Regions from separate parts of the Homo sapiens genome. Here region 2 is linked to region 1. Evidence: promoter capture Hi-C in 16 types of primary human blood cells and fetal thymus (Javierre and others, 2016). All regions are on one chromosome and are shown on one strand. The core of a region is centred on a gene start or on the middle of the fragment in contact, and the rest is flanking DNA. Distances in the headings are between cores, read along the strand shown.

The links. The method cuts DNA at HindIII sites, captures the fragments that hold promoters and counts their contacts. A CHiCAGO score of 5 or more calls a contact.
Region 2: a contact is called between the fragment with the promoter of ZCWPW1 here and the fragment with the promoter of PDAP1 in region 1, in 1 of 17 cell types (neutrophils). The highest score is 7.6, in neutrophils.

Annotation. Positions count from the first base shown.
Region 1 is chr7:99,405,875-99,410,869 of GRCh38, forward strand. It overlaps PDAP1 (PDGFA associated protein 1), which reads right to left and starts at 2,723. Exons shown (of 6, transcript NM_014891.7): 1 at 2,662-2,723. The coding sequence starts at 2,674. BUD31 (BUD31 spliceosome associated protein) reads left to right here and starts at 3,095. Exons shown (of 6, transcript NM_003910.4): 1 at 3,095-3,371; 2 at 4,160-4,295. MIR12119 (microRNA 12119) reads left to right here and starts at 3,298; the gene lies at 3,298-3,390. RefSeq lists a silencer at 2,492-2,551 and an enhancer at 2,762-3,151. The HindIII fragment of the contact is 3,476 bases long and covers 1,361-4,836 here.
Region 2 is chr7:100,426,521-100,431,515 of GRCh38, forward strand. It overlaps ZCWPW1 (zinc finger CW-type and PWWP domain containing 1), which reads right to left and starts at 2,183. Exons shown (of 18, transcript NM_001386010.1): 1 at 2,048-2,183. MEPCE (methylphosphate capping enzyme) reads left to right here and starts at 3,311. Exons shown (of 4, transcript NM_019606.6): 1 at 3,311-4,995. The coding sequence starts at 3,499. RefSeq lists silencers at 1,661-1,710, 3,531-4,000 and enhancers at 1,871-2,100, 3,121-3,260, 4,131-4,210. The HindIII fragment of the contact is 9,299 bases long and covers 1-4,995 here.

The DNA of each region.
Region 1 (4,995 bases), core at 1,473-3,972:
AGGGTTGTCACAAAGATAGATGAATTAATCAATATACAGAAAGCTGCTGGAACAGTGCCTGCTACTGAATAAGCACTACAAAAATGTTCGCTAATATCCAGGCACAGTGGCTGATGCCTGTAATCCCAGCACTTTGGGAGGCCAAGGCGGGCAGATCACTTGAGGCCAGTTCAAGACCAGCCTGGTCAACATGGTGAAACCCCCTCACTACTAAAAATACAAAAATTAGCTGGGCATGGTGTCACATGTTTGTAATCCCAGCTACTTGGGAGGCTGAGAAAGGAGAATCGCTTGAACCCAGGAGGCAGAGGTTGCAGTAGCCGAGATTGAGCCACTGCACTCCAGCCTGGGCCACAGAGCGAGACTCCGTCTCAAAAAAATAAAAAAATCGCTGTTCGTTACTTTTCCCTCTAATCTAGTATTTGGTGGAAAAACAACAACAAAAGCACCACTGAGCACATAAGCAATTTACTGCAGATGTTGGAAACACAATAAAATACCTTGTGTTCACCTTAGTAGTATGGCAAAAAGAGAATACTTAAGGGAAAAAAAAGAAACCCAAACCTACAGGCAAAAACTTTGTGCTTAGACTAAGAAATGACTGGCAAAGTACAGATGAAAACAAACCTGACTACACAGTCTAAAAGTTAAAAATGTGACTAGCAGTTAAAGTGTCAGTTTTATAGTCTGACCCTCTTCAGCCAGAACACCAGGCTGACCCTTGCTTAAGCCATCAGCCAGTTTTAAAGCAAGGTGGCATCCCCCTCTGCTGGTCCCCAAGTATGCAAGGGTGGCTGTGGCCTCAACTTCCACACAGGAAGCTGAGGCCCACCTGATTTCCATAGTCTGTCTCTGTGAGCAGAGACTCTGTAATCAGCCAGAGTTGCTCTGCACTCCAGAGGCGGTAGCAGAGATACTGGCCTCCTCTGATTCCTTACAGCAGCTGCAAAGCCATAATTGGGCTGCTAAAGATCACACCACCCATTTTTAATGACTACCTAGGTTCCCAGGGGTGTCTAAGTCTATGCTTATTAAAGTCCTATTGTGAGAGAGCAAGTGTGCCAAGAAAAAAACCAACACCCTTTCTTGCTCTCTTAATACACCAGGCAACAGTAACAACTCAAAATTGATTACTATAGGCTCTCCTCTCATGCACTTGGCTATGGGACCCTGACCTTAGCTTGGTCCACAGTAATTTTATAGTAGACTCTTCAAGACTTTAAAAAACGATTTGCACTTAACATAATGGAAACAAGCGTTGGTCCTTTGCTCTTAGGGAGTTTGATACTTTTAACACCTTCACGGTTTTTTGTGGTTTTCAGATTAACCCAAGAAAATGTAAACCTTGTCTACCCCAAAAAGCTTTTCACAAGCCCAAAGACCATTTAGCTATGAATTCATATTTAAGGTTTTATCGTTGTAACCTCCAACCTTTACCCAAAGTATCCATTAAGTAAAACTTCGGAGGGAGGATGGCTCATTCAGCAACCTCCTTTTACAGATGAAGGGACTGGGGAACAATAGCAGAGAGACTTTTCCAGCCACAGAATAAATCAGTAGAGAGCTAGGTTTAAACACATTTAGCTCTGTAATGCCCAATTATCTCTGGAGTCAGGAAGCGATTTAGGTTTGAAAACGCTACAGGCAGATGTTTCTGTGGGTTGAGTGCATTAACCAATATAACACATGAGCTACCAACACAAATATATTTGTTCTGTGCCAGGAGGTGGCCAGGCACTTTATGAGCGCTATAATTTTACCACCCCGGCCCCAATTCAACAAGCTAAGGATTAGCCCAGTGTTTCAGATGAGGAAGAGGTTAACTTGTTCAGGGCCACAGAATTAGACGTGACATAGCTGGGATTCAAACTGGGGACTATCGATTCTAAAGGGGGAAACAGGATAGAGAACGGGCTAGAAGATAGAGGACGGGCTACAATGGACTGGGCAGTCATGAACCTACTTACAAGATCAAGAGCTGGCAAAGCCTTAAAAATAAGAATAGTTACTGCTTCACTGGGCACTTTTAACGACTGCCTGGCACTGTACTGCGCACTCCACGTGGATTACCTAGTTGAAGCCTCCCAACAGTACTAAGAGGTAGGTACAATCGTTATTCCCATTGGCAAATGAGAAAACGGAGACACAGGAGGTGGAGCGACTGGCTCAAAGGAACACACCGAGCCGCTACCGAACGGGGGAGTCGAAACCAGGTCTGGAAGGCTCATGGGCATCTCCTTAAGTCCTCCTAGGCAGGCCTGGCTGAACCGAAGCCAGAAAAAGCCCACGTTTTACGCGAGAGGCAGGCGGGCCCGGCACAAGCGCGGGACGCGGTGACTCAGTTCCTAGCCAGCCAAAGAGTGGGATAAATTCCAGAACCCCTAGACCCGGAGAAGCGCATCCTAGATCCGGCTTTCTAGGCCGGCGAGGACCCAGAGCTTCCGAAACTCCTCAGACCACTGACGGAGTGACTCTGGGACACCACAGTCCTCAGTTTCCCCATCGGGACAATTGGGCGTCGAGGCCCAGGCCTGGCTCTCAGCCGGTGCGGACAGCCTCCCTCTGCGCTGCTCTCAGAGACGCGCACGGGCTGAGGGGACAGCGGAAGCCGGACCTGGGCCGCCCCTCCAGGCCTGCGGGCCACCGGCGCCCGCCCCTCACCTCCTTTAGGCATTGCGGCTCCGGCGGCTGCGGCGGCGGCGGCGGCGCCTCGAACTGACACCGGAACCGGAAATAGCTTGGGCTCGACTTCTTCCTCCTGGGCCAGCCGCCGCCGCCGCTTCAGTGGCCGCAGTGGCCGCAAGGACCCGGACCTCAGGGAGGCCTCCGCACGAAGTCGGACCGTCCTGCGCGCCGCCTAAGTCCAGGCTTGCCCGTCTGCTGCCAGGCAACAACGCCCCTAGTCTCTCCGTTCGGGAAGACGCGTGGCCCTGCCTGCCACCCACCGGAAGTGAGGGCAAATGGCAACAGCGGCTCTGGAATTCTATACAGGCATTGCTGAGGACACCTAAGATGACGCAATCTCCGCGCGGGTAGGGCGGGGCTCCGCAAGGACCTCATGCCTTAGAGATCGCCTGAAGAGCGGAAGCCTTCTGTCGAGAAGCAGCTACCCAAGCTCCAGGAGCTTCCGGTATGTGTTTTCCCTCTGTTCTCGATTACCTTGGCAACGGCTGAGGCGGGAGACCGGTGGTCTGCACCGTCCTGGAGGGAGATATGAGTGGCTGGACTCTCAGCCAGCCACTGGGATGTGTTCGGGCTTTGGACCTTGAGGCCGGAGAGAGCTCCCGAGAGGAGGCGGCGCCACGTTCGTTCTTCTGAGGGGACGGTAGATTTGGGGGTTTTCCTCTAGGATTCTCGCGCCGTTTCCTCTGGTAGGAACGTCTTCTGTGTTCTGATTGTTTTTCTAAGCTGGGTTCAGATGCTGTCCTTTTTATGAGTTTTCCCTACAATCCTGCACTATCTTCCTTCGCTCCTCCTCGCCTCCTTCCCCTAGCGCCCCAATCTCTCTTACACCTCCCGGCACATCTTTCTTCTCGATCTGATTACCTCCTACGTCCTCTTTCTCCTCGATCTGGTTACCGCCTACCATTTTCACCTCCGAGAGGCCTCTTCTGACTTCCAGGCTGGATCAGGGCCCTCGAATTTCCCTGGGTCGTAGAAAAGCGATCATTCTCTTGTCACAGACTATGCGCCTTGGGGCCGAGACCAGAATTCACCTATTTTTAGCTTCAGCGTAGGGGAGACTAGTGCGAAGACCACTGATTTGGGAGTCAGGAGCCCTCCAGAGTCAGGTTTTGCAAATTCTCAGCTGTGTGACCCTGATTCTACCTTATAGAGTTTGATTCCTCCTCTATATGGTTGTTTTAGAGAGTTCATGAGAGGAGGCTCTGTGGGCGGGGGGGGGGTGGGTCTTTGTAAAGTGTCAGTACAGAAGGGAGTGACTGAATGAATTTGAGAGAGATGAATCTGTTATGCTGAAAGGTAAATACTTAACCTGGGTTCTCTCTGGCAGCAAGGAAATGCTGTGTGGTTTGAAAAACGCTTTGCTATTTAGATTGGGATCGGCCTCTTGTATGGGAACTACCTGACTTTATGTAATATGTTGTTTGGTGTGAAAGAGACCTTGGCAATCAGCCAATCCACTGCCCTCATTTTACAGAAGAAACAGGACCAGAGAGGGAAGGTGACCTGAAAGTCACAGAATAATTTTTTAGAGCTGAACAAGAATCCAAGCCTGCAACTGCAGAGACGAGAGATCTTTCTGCTGTCTATACTCTTGGAAAGCACATCCTAAGGTACTTTGATTTTACAGTCATCTTTCCCTTTTTATTTTATGTTTTGTTTTGTTTTGTTTGTTATTGAGACATGGTCTCACTCCGTCACTTAGGCTGGAGTGCAGTAGTGTGAACATGGCTAACTGAAGACTTTCAACCTCCTGGGCTCAAGTGATCCTCTTGCCTCAGCCTTCCGTGTAGCTCAGACCACAGGCACCCACCACCATGCTCAGTTAATTTTTTTGATTTTTTTTTTTTTTTGGTAGAGATAGGGTTTCACCTCATTGCTCAGACTGGTCTCAAATTCCTGGGCTCAAGTGATCCTCCCATCTCAGCCTCCCAAGGTGCTGGCCAAGACCAGAATTACAGGCATGAGCCACCGTGCCTGACCTTCCATCTTTGCCTTTTTAAATACTCACCCCCATGGCTCCCCGAGTCACAGCCCTCCTTATACTCTATTGTAATTGCTTTTTCTCTTGTCTGTCTCTTTGCTAAAATGTCACCTTCTAAGGGGCAAAGGCTTAACTTTTGTTCTGTGTTCCCAACATCCAGTATAGGGTTAAGCTTTTAGTTGAAGTTAGCTAATGACAACAGCAAATGTCTCTTAGGCACACATTATACACCAGGCATGATAGATACAATTCTAATGAAGTCTTTGCAATGACCACATAAGGTAGCTTCCATTATCCCCATTTTACAGATGAGGAAACAGAGGCTTAGG
Region 2 (4,995 bases), core at 933-3,432, 1.0 Mb after region 1:
CAAATCTTTTTTAAGCCAGAGTCTGATCTTCCTTTTTGCATTAATAACAGTATGTGGACTCCTGCTTATTTTCATGCCTCAATTAACTAATAGCAGTTTCCTCCCTCCCTCTCACTTTTTCTCCCTCCCTCTCTCCCTCCTTTACTCCTTCCTCCCTCTTCCCTCCCTCTCTTCCTTCTTCCCTCCTTCTGTCTCCCTTTGTCCCTCCATCCCTTCCTCCCCCTCCTTCTCTCCCTCCCCCTCCTTCCTTGCCCTCCTCCCTTTCTCTCTCCCTCTTCCCTCCCTCCTCCCCCTCTCCTTTCTCCCCCTCCTCCTTCCCTTTCCTCCCCCTCTCCTTCCTACCCCCCTCCCCCTCCTCCCTTCCCTGCTTCCCCTCCTTCTTCCTTCCTCTCCCTCCCTCCCTTCTCCCTCCCCCTCCTCCCTCCCCTTTCCTCCCCCTCCTCCCTTCCCCCTTTCCTCCCTCCCTCTCTTCTCCTTCCCTCCCTCCCGTTTCCTCCCCCTCCTCCCTCCCTCCCCTTTCCTCCCTCCCTCTCTTATCCTTCCCTCCCTCTCTCTTCTCCTTCCCTCCCTCTCTCTCTTCTCCTTCCCTCCCTCCCCTTTCCTCCCCCTCCTCCCTCCCTCCTCCCTTTCCTCCCTCCCTCTCTCTCTTCTCCTTCCCTCCCTCCTTCCTTCCTCCCCCTTCCCTCCCTCCTTCCTTCCTCCCCCTTCCCTCCCTCCTTCCTTCCTCCCCCTTCCCTCCCTTGCTTTCTTCCTTCGTGTTTGTGCACAAGCTCAGCAAGCCCGATTTAAAACTTTTAACAAGAAAGAAGAGGCGGGTGGATCACCTTAAGTCAGGAGTTCGGGACCAGCCTGGCCAATACGGTGAAACCCCGTCTCTACTAAAAATACAAAAAAATCAGCCGAGCACGGTGGCGCGTGCCTGTAATCCCAGCATTTTGGGAGGCCAAGGTGGGCGGATCACCTAAGGTCAGGAGTTCGAGACCAGCCTGGCCAACATGGAGAAACCCCGTCTCTACTAAAAATACAAAATTAGCCGGGCACAGTGGCGGGCGCCTGTAGTCCCAGCTCCTCGGGAGGCTGAGGCAGGGGAATCGCTTGAACCCAGGAGGTGGGGGTTGCAGTGAGCCGAGACTGCGCCACTGCACTCCAGCCTGGGCGACAGAGCGAGACAGTCTTTAAAAAAAAAAAAAAAAAAGCCCCAATTCCAAATCCACCTGCAATCCAAAGGGAAGAAGTTTTGCAGAGAAGTTCTTCCCATTTGTGGGGCGCTCCCATTTTTCCTCTCTTCCCTCACCCCTTATTCTCTCTCAGGGATAGCGGTTCAAGTCGGTGTCCCTGAGCCACACGTCCCCCTCTCTCTTCCCCGTCCCCTCCCTTCCTTCCTCCCACCATGAGGGAATCTCCCCTCCACCCCCACTCCTGCCGAGGCCCCGTGATCCTTATTCTCACTCATATCGTTGGTGCCCGCCAGGAGACTGGGCTATTTTTTTTTTGTCTGTTTCTTGGGGGCGACAGATTCTGAGGAAAAAGGGCGAAGGGCTGGTTGTCGCCCTGAGAAAGTTTCTCCTCAGGCAACGGGTGCCAGGACTGGCAGCGCCTAGCACCTTCACCTACAACCAGAAACTAGCTGGCTACCTTCAGGAGCAAGGAGGACCTAAAGGCGATGGGCGGAACCAGCTGCCGCAGCGACTCCGCAAGCCCCTCACACCTCAACCCAGGTTTCCCGCCACCAAGAAAAGGCACGAGGACGCCCTGAGCACTAGCTCCACCCGAGGGCGGTGCGCTCGCGGGGCCGAGGCGCATGCGCAACTGGAAACAGCGTCTGCGTTTCCGCAGCTGAGGTAAATCCGCCATCTTCCACCCGAACGTCCCGGGAAAACTACAAATCCCAGAATCCTCTTTGGTGTCACATATTTTTAGGCGGCGGCCGCGGCGCCTGATTGTTCCTGAAGCACATCTACTAACTTTTCTGTTTCAGACTGCCTTTTCCTCCCTCTTTCCGTTCTCTAATTCCTCCTCTTCCTGCTGGTCTCCTTCACGCCCTCACCTTAGGATTTTGAGACTCTCCTGGACCCCACTGTCACCCCTGCCGCCCTGTCCTCGGCCCAGCACTCCGCTGGCAGGGAGACCGGGCGGCGCATCTCCCCGGGAAAACGGCGTAGACTCGCTTCTTCCTCATTGGCAGAAGCTGGGGGGGCCCAGCGCGGACCGAACCCCCGTCCCCGCCCACACTCGCTGGTATATAAGTCGGCGTGGCGCCGCGGTGGGTGTTGAGAGGCCCGCGAACTGACGGGCCAGTGAGCGGGCGTCGGGAGTGGGCGGATGCGTTGGGGTTCGGGTCGTGGGTGTTGAGGCGGAGAGGAAGGCGTGGTGTGGCGTCTCCAGGTGATTGCGATTGGGGGAAGGTAGAGGAGCCAGAGAACGACTCAGCCGTTTCGGGGGAAGAGGAAGTTGGACAACATCGGCTGTTTTAGTGCTTTTTATTTTTCCCCAATTCAGCAGAGAATATTTTCAAGGGGGGTGAGTTATAATGACCTATCGCGTTTTACTGAGCCCAGTTCCACTCCCGCCCTTCCTTGGCTTTGTAGGGTCTCCCCTCCGCTCCCTCGGAAGCGCTTCTAAGAAGGTGGGCAGAGGGGGGGAGGTTTGCTACCAACAGCTCATGAATAATTCATGAGCCCCGCCCTTCGTCAGGAAGCCCCGCCCCTCCGGATCGCGCTGACGCACGCTGCGTTTACCAAACTTAAGGAAGCGACGTCACAGGCCCAACCCCTAAGACGGGGGGCGGGGCGCCAGTTTCAGCACGTGCTGCCTCTACCCGCGCAAGCCCAAAAGGGTGTGCGCAGGCGCTGCCCACTAGGGGGGAGGAAGGAGGCGGGGTGGGGAGGTTGTTGGATTTAGAGCCGGGCGGAGACCGCTGAGACTCATTCCTCAGGAACAAGGGTCGGGTGTCAAGGAGACCTTTTCACACCAGCTCCCGTCCCCCGCCTACGGTGGGTGGGATCGCGCGGCAGAGACAAAGGAGATCAGTAGGGCCGGACATAGCTGCGCAGGGAAGTAGGGTGTCAGTTTGGGGTGGTGGGCTTTTGCGGGGGCTGTGGGGGGGTTATATTTAAACTCCCAGAGCCGTTAAGTTGGTTCGTAGTCTGATGCGCGCGCAACCAGGGTGGTGGCGGAGTGCGCATGCGTGGTTCCCGGGCGAAGGGAACGCGCGCTCACCGTGCGCGCTCGCGGCCGGGTGGTAGTGGCGGAGGAGAAAGGGGTCGGCGCACGCGCGGTTGAGTCCTCGAGTAGTTCGGGTCTCGCGGGCCTCTTGTTTTGGTCTCGCGGGCTAGTAGGGCGCACTTGGCGGGGAGGCGCTTGGGCGCGAGACTAGGCGTGAAGAGCAGAGCTGCGCGCGCACTCGGGAAAGGGGGGAAGGGAGCAGGGTCCAGGCAGGGGGGGTTAGGCCCCCTGATCCCCCTCGTTACCCCGACTGGCACGGAATAAGGGGAGGAAATGATCGAGATGGCGGCGGAGAAGGAGCCGTTTCTGGTGCCGGCCCCGCCGCCGCCGCTCAAAGATGAGTCGGGCGGAGGGGGCGGCCCCACGGTGCCACCGCACCAAGAGGCCGCCTCTGGGGAGCTCCGCGGCGGGACGGAGCGTGGTCCGGGTCGTTGCGCGCCATCTGCGGGGTCCCCAGCCGCTGCGGTCGGTCGGGAAAGCCCCGGGGCCGCGGCCACCTCCTCCAGTGGTCCCCAGGCGCAGCAGCACCGAGGGGGCGGCCCCCAGGCGCAGTCGCATGGGGAGGCCCGCCTGTCGGATCCCCCGGGGCGAGCCGCTCCCCCGGACGTGGGGGAGGAGCGCCGGGGAGGGGGCGGGACAGAGCTGGGTCCCCCTGCTCCTCCTCGACCCCGCAATGGCTATCAGCCCCACCGGCCACCTGGGGGGGGCGGGGGCAAGAGGAGAAATAGCTGTAATGTAGGGGGAGGCGGGGGAGGCTTCAAACATCCGGCCTTCAAGAGGCGCAGGCGGGTGAATTCGGACTGTGACTCTGTGTTACCCTCCAACTTCCTCCTGGGGGGCAATATCTTTGATCCCCTGAACCTGAATAGCCTCCTGGATGAGGAAGTGAGCCGCACTCTCAACGCGGAGACCCCTAAGTCATCCCCCCTTCCGGCCAAAGGGCGAGATCCGGTGGAGATCCTCATCCCCAAAGATATTACTGACCCGCTCAGTCTCAATACTTGCACTGATGAGGGCCATGTAGTTCTTGCTTCGCCACTCAAGACTGGTCGGAAGCGGCATAGACACCGGGGACAGCACCACCAGCAGCAGCAGGCAGCCGGAGGGAGTGAGAGTCACCCCGTGCCGCCCACAGCCCCTCTCACCCCCTTACTCCACGGGGAGGGCGCCTCACAGCAGCCGCGGCACAGGGGCCAGAACCGGGATGCCCCCCAACCCTATGAACTCAACACAGCCATCAACTGCAGGGATGAAGTGGTGTCTCCCCTTCCATCTGCTCTGCAGGGTCCCTCAGGCTCCCTATCAGCCCCTCCAGCTGCCTCAGTTATCTCTGCACCCCCATCTTCCTCCTCCCGACATCGCAAACGTCGCAGGACTTCCAGCAAGTCGGAGGCAGGGGCTAGGGGTGGAGGCCAGGGTTCCAAGGAAAAGGGCCGAGGGAGTTGGGGAGGCCGCCACCACCACCACCACCCACTGCCTGCAGCAGGCTTCAAAAAGCAACAGCGCAAGTTCCAGTATGGGAATTATTGCAAATACTATGGGTACCGCAATCCTTCCTGTGAGGATGGGCGCCTTCGGGTGTTGAAGCCTGAGTGGTTTCGGGGCCGGGACGTCCTAGATCTGGGCTGCAATGTGGGCCATCTGACCCTGAGCATTGCCTGCAAGTGGGGCCCGTCCCGCATGGTGGGCCTGGATATCGATTCCCGGCTCATCCATTCTGCCCGCCAAAACATCCGACACTACCTTTCCGAGGAGCTGCGTCTCCCACCC